Linked DNA regions of Homo sapiens: region 2 is linked to region 1. The links are contacts of gene promoters, found by promoter capture Hi-C in blood cells and fetal thymus (Javierre and others, 2016). All regions are on one chromosome and are shown on one strand. The core of a region is centred on a gene start or on the middle of the fragment in contact, and the rest is flanking DNA. Distances in the headings are between cores, read along the strand shown.

Evidence for each region. The method cuts DNA at HindIII sites, captures the fragments that hold promoters and counts their contacts. A CHiCAGO score of 5 or more calls a contact.
Region 2: the fragment with the promoter of CPAMD8 here is called in contact with the fragment with the promoter of LINC00661 in region 1 in 5 of 17 cell types (total B cells, naive B cells, total CD4 T cells and 2 more); the score reaches 10.0 in total B cells.

The regions. Positions count from the first base shown.
Region 1 is chr19:16,014,047-16,017,045 of GRCh38, reverse strand. LINC00661 (long intergenic non-protein coding RNA 661) reads right to left here and starts at 1,412. Exons shown (of 9, transcript NR_026828.1): 1 at 1,257-1,412. LOC105372291 (a long non-coding RNA gene) reads left to right here and starts at 1,990. Exons shown (of 2, transcript XR_936355.1): 1 at 1,990-2,075; 2 at 2,661-2,910. The HindIII fragment of the contact is 12,039 bases long and covers 1-2,999 here.
Region 2 is chr19:17,025,411-17,028,409 of GRCh38, reverse strand. It overlaps CPAMD8 (C3 and PZP like alpha-2-macroglobulin domain containing 8), which reads left to right and starts at 1,600. Exons shown (of 42, transcript NM_015692.5): 1 at 1,600-1,859. The coding sequence starts at 1,768. RefSeq lists an enhancer at 520-1,428. The HindIII fragment of the contact is 6,852 bases long and covers 196-2,999 here.

The DNA.
Region 1 (2,999 bases), core at 163-2,662:
GACACGGAGGTAGGCTGGCGGCACTTGGCACAGTGACAGCATGGGTTCACAGCCTCTGTCATGACGGGGCCCTACCTGGCTCAGCAGGGCCCAGGGTCAGCGTCCTCTGCCCGCTTAATGGTCAACATGTATGCGTGCAATTTGTCTGTGTATGTGAGGATGCATGTGTGTGGGTGAACACGTCTCTCCTCCAGCTGGGCCTGGCTGCTCCACTCAGGTGTGCACCTGGATCCCTGTCACTGTCACCCCCGGGCCTGTGGCCAGCATCAGAGCACCCATAGGTGCTCCTCAGCCTCTGCTCTTTCCATGCTGGGTGGTCCTGGGGATGCAGATGGGGCAGGGACATAGGGCAAAGGGCAGAGGGCAGAGGGCAGAGGGCAGAAGCCAGGCTTCCCCCTTGGGGTGACTCGCGTAGTGTGTAAAGTGCCAGGTCTGTGTGGCAGGGCTGGATTCAATGCAATGCACCCTCTCACCTCCTCCTCCCAGAAGCCCACTGGGGTGCTGTGACTCACCCCCCACCCCATGGATGGAGGCAATCACGGAGGCTTCGAGGACTAACCCGTGGCCTGAGATCACCCAGGATCCCACTGGCCAGGCTTCCAATGGTTAAGCTCCCACTGAACAGGTCCTAGCTGACCACCCCCACAATGACCAGGTCCCACTGACCAGATGTGGACTGACCAGGTCCTGCTGACTGGGCCCCACAGACCAGGCCCTGGCTCATCAGACACCACTGACAAAGGCCACAATAACAAGGCTGCAACTGACAAGGCCCTCACGGCCCTCACTGACTAGGTCCCAACTGATGGACCCCACCAAATAGATCTCACTAATCAGACCCCCGCTGACCAGGCCCTAACAACTGCTGGACCCCTGCTGGCCAGGCCCCAAATGCTGAACCCCACTCACCAGGCCCCAAAAGCTGAACCCCACTGACTGGGCCCCAAATGCTGGATCCCTGCTGACAGGCCCCAACTATGGGATCCCCACCAACCAGGCGCCAACTGTCAGACCCCTGCCAACCAGGCCCCGGACGCTGGACTCCACTGACCATGTCCCAGCTACTGGACCCCCACTGACCAGGCCCCAACAACTGCTGGACTGCACTGATCAAGCCCAAACTGCCAGACCCCACTGACTGGGCCCCAACTCCTAGACCCCTCCTGACTGAGCCCCAACTGCCAGACCCTTGCCAACCAGGCCTCTTCTTATGAGACCCCTGCTGACCAGACCCCAACTGCTGGGCCCCTGCTTACCAGGCCCCCACATCCACACCTCACTGACTAGGCCTCACTGCTCTGATCCCCGCCGATCAGGCCCCAAATGCCGGGCCCAGATGACCAGGCCTCAACTGCTAGACGGCCCACCAACCAGGCCTCAGCTCCTGGACCCCTGTTGACCAGGCCCCAACTGCCAGACCCCAATGACCAGGCCCCAACTGCCAGAGCCCTGCTGACCAGGTTCCAACTGCTGGATCCCCTTTGACCAGGCCCCAACTGTTGGACCCCCGACAACCAGGTCCCAACTGCCTGATTCCGCCAACCAGGCCCCAACTGGTAGACCCCTGCTGACCAGGTCCCAACTGCGAGACCCATGCAGATGAAGGCCCAGCGTCCAGACCTCACTGCCTAGACCGCACTGATCTGATCCTCACTGACCAGGCCCCAACCGCCAGACCCCACCTACCAGGTCCCAGCTGCTGCATCCCTGCCAAATAACCCCCAGCTGCCGTATCCCCTCTGACCAGGCCCCAACTGCTGGACCCCCTCCAAACAGGCCCCAACTATAAGACCCCGCTGACCAGGCCCCAACTGCCAGACCCCCATGGACGAGGCTGCAACTGCCAGATCTCTGCTCACCAGGCCCCAACTGTGGGACCCCCGCTGGCCAGACCCCAACCATGAGACCCTCGCCAAACACGCCCCAACTACTGGACTCTTGCTGGCCAGGCCCCAACCCCCAGGGCCTAGTCAGTCAGTGAGACCTGACTAGGTCTCACTGATCAGATCCCCGCTGACCTTGCCCCAGCTGCAGACCCCTATTGACTGTGGGCGGAGGATTACCCAGGTGCCGAGGTGAGAGACTGAAGACACAAACTGTTTCAGTATAATAAAGAAAATAGTTAGAATAAGAATAGTCATAATACAAATTAGATATAGAGATGATCATGGACAATTATCAATCATTATTATAAACATTATTAATCATTAGCTTTTAATATTACTCTTTGTTGCGTTACTAACATAACCTAGGAATAACTGGCGGGTAGAGGGTCAGGTGCTGAAGGGACATTGTTAGAAGTGACCTAGAAGGCAAGAGGTGAGCCCTCTGTCAACGCGTGCATAAGGGCAGCTTGAGGGCTCCTTGGTCAAGCGGTAACGCCAGTGTCTGGGAAGGCGCCCGTTACTTAGCAGACTGCGAAAGGGAGTCTCCTTTCCTTGGAGGAGTCAGGGAACACTGCTCCACCAGCTTCTTGTGGAAGGCTGGATATTATCTAGGCCTGCCGCAGTCATCCGGAGGCCTAAACCCCTCCTTGTGGTGCTGTGCTCCAATGGTCACTTTCATGTTCCTCCCGTACTCCTGGTTCCTCTTTGAAATTTGTAGTAGATAGCGGTAGAAGGAATAGTGAAAGTCTTACAGTCTTTGATCTTTCTTGTAAGTGCATAGAAGAAAACGCTGACGTATGCTGCCTTCTCTCTCTCTGCTTCGGCTACCTAAGAGGGAAGGGCCCCCTGTGCTGTGATCACGTGACTTGCTTCACCTTGTCAATCACTTAGAAGATTCACCCTCCTGACCCTACGCCCCTTGTCTTGTATGCAATAAATATCAGTGTGCCCAGCCATTCAGGGCCACTACTGGTCTCCGCGTCTTGATGGTAGTGGTCCCTCGGGCCCAGCTGTTTTCTCTTTATCTCTTGGTCTTGTGTCTTTATTTCTTACGCTCTCTCGTCTCTGCACACGGGGAGAACACCCGCTAAGTCCCGTAGGGCTGGACCCTCC
Region 2 (2,999 bases), core at 351-2,850, 1.0 Mb before region 1:
CACCATCATCAGTTACGTCCCCTCTGGGTTGTGTGCTCAGTGGCAGCAGGTCCTGTATGTCCCAGGGTCCTCATTGCCCAGCCCAGGGCTTGGTGCTGCCTGGGTGATCAGTGTTGGGTCCAAAGGCTGTTGACAGGGCTGAGAAGCCCCCAGAGGACCCACATCCCTAGGGGCAGGGAGGGGGCAAGAGAAGCTTCCCTTGAGTTTCCTGGAAGGATCAGGAGTTGGACTGGCAAAGGAGGCAGGTAGAGGAAGACAGAGATTAGGCAGAAGCAGGCAGTGGAGTAAGAACAGGGTGTTGGAGGAACTAGGCTGAGGTCTCTGCCATCAAAGCCAGAGTTTAGATTTGGTCTCAATAAACGGGAAGCCCTGGCTGGATGTGGTGGCTCACACCTGTAATCCCAGCACTTTGGGAGGCTGAGGAGGGAGGATCATTTGAGCCCAGTGCTCAAGACCAGCCTGGGCAACACAGTGCGACTCCGTTTCTAAAAAAAAATATATAAAAATTAGCTGGGTGCGGGCTTGCACCTGTAGTCCCAGCTACTCTCCAGGAGTCTGAAGCTGCAGTGAGCTGTGACTGCACCACTAAATTCCTGCCTGGGCAACAGAGCAAAACTCTGGTCTCAAAACATAAAAATAAAATGTAAAATAAACAGGGAGCCCCGAGGATTCCGGGCAGGAGGGGGTGTGGTCAGCACTGGAATTTTAGAAGAAGGGCAGTTGGTAGCTGGGGGAAGGGGGTTCCACACTGGAAGGAGGGGGTCCAGGACTTGGACATGGTATAGGATGTGCCGCCTGCCAGTGGGACCTAGGACAGCAGGACCATCACTGAGGTGGCCACACGGGGAGGGGCAGGAGGGGACACCCTGCTCTTGGAGAGAAAGGGGGTGCCCATCCACCCCTGCTGTATGAAGGGGAAAGGGGGACTCTGAGGCCCAGCGAGAGAGGGGACGGGCCCAAGGGATTTGTGGACAGTGGGGGTGGGGGAGAGGGGAGCAGAGAGCACAGATAGGGACCTGGGGCAGATGTGAGTCTGGGAGGTTCGACCCCTGGCTAGACTGTTTCCCCAAAGGGTCCTCTGCTCCTTGGGCTGTACGCACTGCACTGGGCACTAGATACAGGCCAGGGCTTAGGGCACGGCGGCGCCTGTGGGATCGGGGTTGCAGGCGGCGTCCAGACCCAGGGGCCCCTGGTGAGGGGCGGGCCCGGGGAGGGGGCCATAAGGGGCTGGCTGGGGAGGGAGGGAGGGAGAGGCCAGGGAAGGGACAGGTTCCGAGTGGACGCTGGGTGGAGAGGAGAGGGAGAGTGGGGGCGGTGGGGGGTCGGGTCCGAGGCGGGGCTGGTGGGGAGGGGGGCATCCGGGGGCGAATCCGGGTAGGGGGTGAGGAGGCGGGTTCGGAAGGAATCGGGCAGGGCCCGGGTGGGTCCGGTGAGTAAGTGAGGGGACGATCCCCGGAAGGGATCGGGGCGGGTCGGGGTCCGGAGATGGGCGGAGCAGGCGTCCCGGGAGGGTGCGCCCAGGAGCGGGGCGAGCGGGGCGAGCGGGGCGGTCCCGGAGACGAGGCGGGTCCGGGGAGGGGGCTGGCCCGGGGCTGCCCCAGCTTGGCCGGGCGCGGAGCGGGGCGCATGGCGCCGGGCGCACTGCGCGGGGGCTGCGAACAAAGGGCCCCCGGCGGCGGCGCGAGGACGGCCGCGCTCGGACCCTGGCCCTGGCCCAGCCCTGGCCCGGCCCCCTCCCCAGGCGCGGCGCCCCCCAGGAGCCGAAAAATGAGCGGCGCCCTGCTCTGGCCGTTGCTCCCGCTCCTGCTCCTGCTGCTGTCGGCGCGGGACGGCGTGCGCGCCGCGCAGCCTCAGGCCCCGTGAGTATCCTCCGGCGACAGAGGAGGTCGGTCGCCTTCTGGGGTGGGGGTCGCGGGTACTGGCTCAGAGTGTTGCAGCGACCTGCCCAAGGCCACACAGCCTCCGCGCTGGGCTGGACCTGGCCTCTTGTTCCCGAATCGTCTTGAGGAGGGGGCGCCCTAAAGTTTCCGAAGTGGCTCTGTGGAGGTACAGGGACTCCCAAAAGCTAAAGGTGCTGAGGTCAGCTCCCCCCGCCCCACCTCGCCCCCTTCGTGTGACCCGGGCTGTCATCATGGGTGGCGATTTCCAGTTGTCCAAGGTATGAAGGTAAGAGGAGCGTCTTGGCTGAGAAGTGGGAGGAGAGTGCGAAGGGGCACTTTCCCGTGGGTGGGCGTGGTGAGGGAGGAGGAAGTGTTTGTTTTGCTTCTACATTTTTCTAGAGGTTTGCTTGCAGGCTTCTGGTGGGTTGACAGCGGGGAGAAGGTGAATTAACTAACTGCTGGGGAGTACTGCTAAGTTGGCTTCACAGAGAATATTTCTAAACCTGGCAAGTTCGGGTGAGCTCTGCAGGGCTGCGGGTTCAGGGGGGCTGCCCTGGTCTGCACAAGACCAGCCTTTTAGTCCAGCTGGGCGTTTAGAAGGCGGCTTGTTCAAGCAGCCCTTGTTTAGGAGTTTCCAGAAAACTGGTAAGCAGTGAGACTAGGTGGGTGTCGTTATTTGCAGTGAGTAGTTGGTCCTTGCTGGTCACAGTTTTAAAAGCAAGACAGTCTACTGCGCTCTGAGCATCCAGACTTCCCTCTCCTAGGCTTCGTGAAATCGGAACCCTACAAATTTTCATCCTAATGCTTCTTTCAAAGCTGGCATCCCTTAGAATAGTGGTTCTCAGCCCTGGGGGGGATTTTTGTCTCCCTGAGGCCGCTGGGAAATGTCTGGAGGTATTTTTGGTTGTCACAAATAGGGAGAGGCATTTGGTGTTGGCATTAAGTGGGTGCAGGCCAGGAATGCTGGTAAACAGCTTTCGATGTGCAGGTCAGCTTCCACTGCAAGGAATGACGCGGCCCCACATGACAGACCTTGGCTCCAATGAGAGACCCTGCCTTATACAGAGGTTTTTGTTTGTTGTTTGTTGTTTTTGGGGTTTGTTTTTGTTTTTGTTTTGA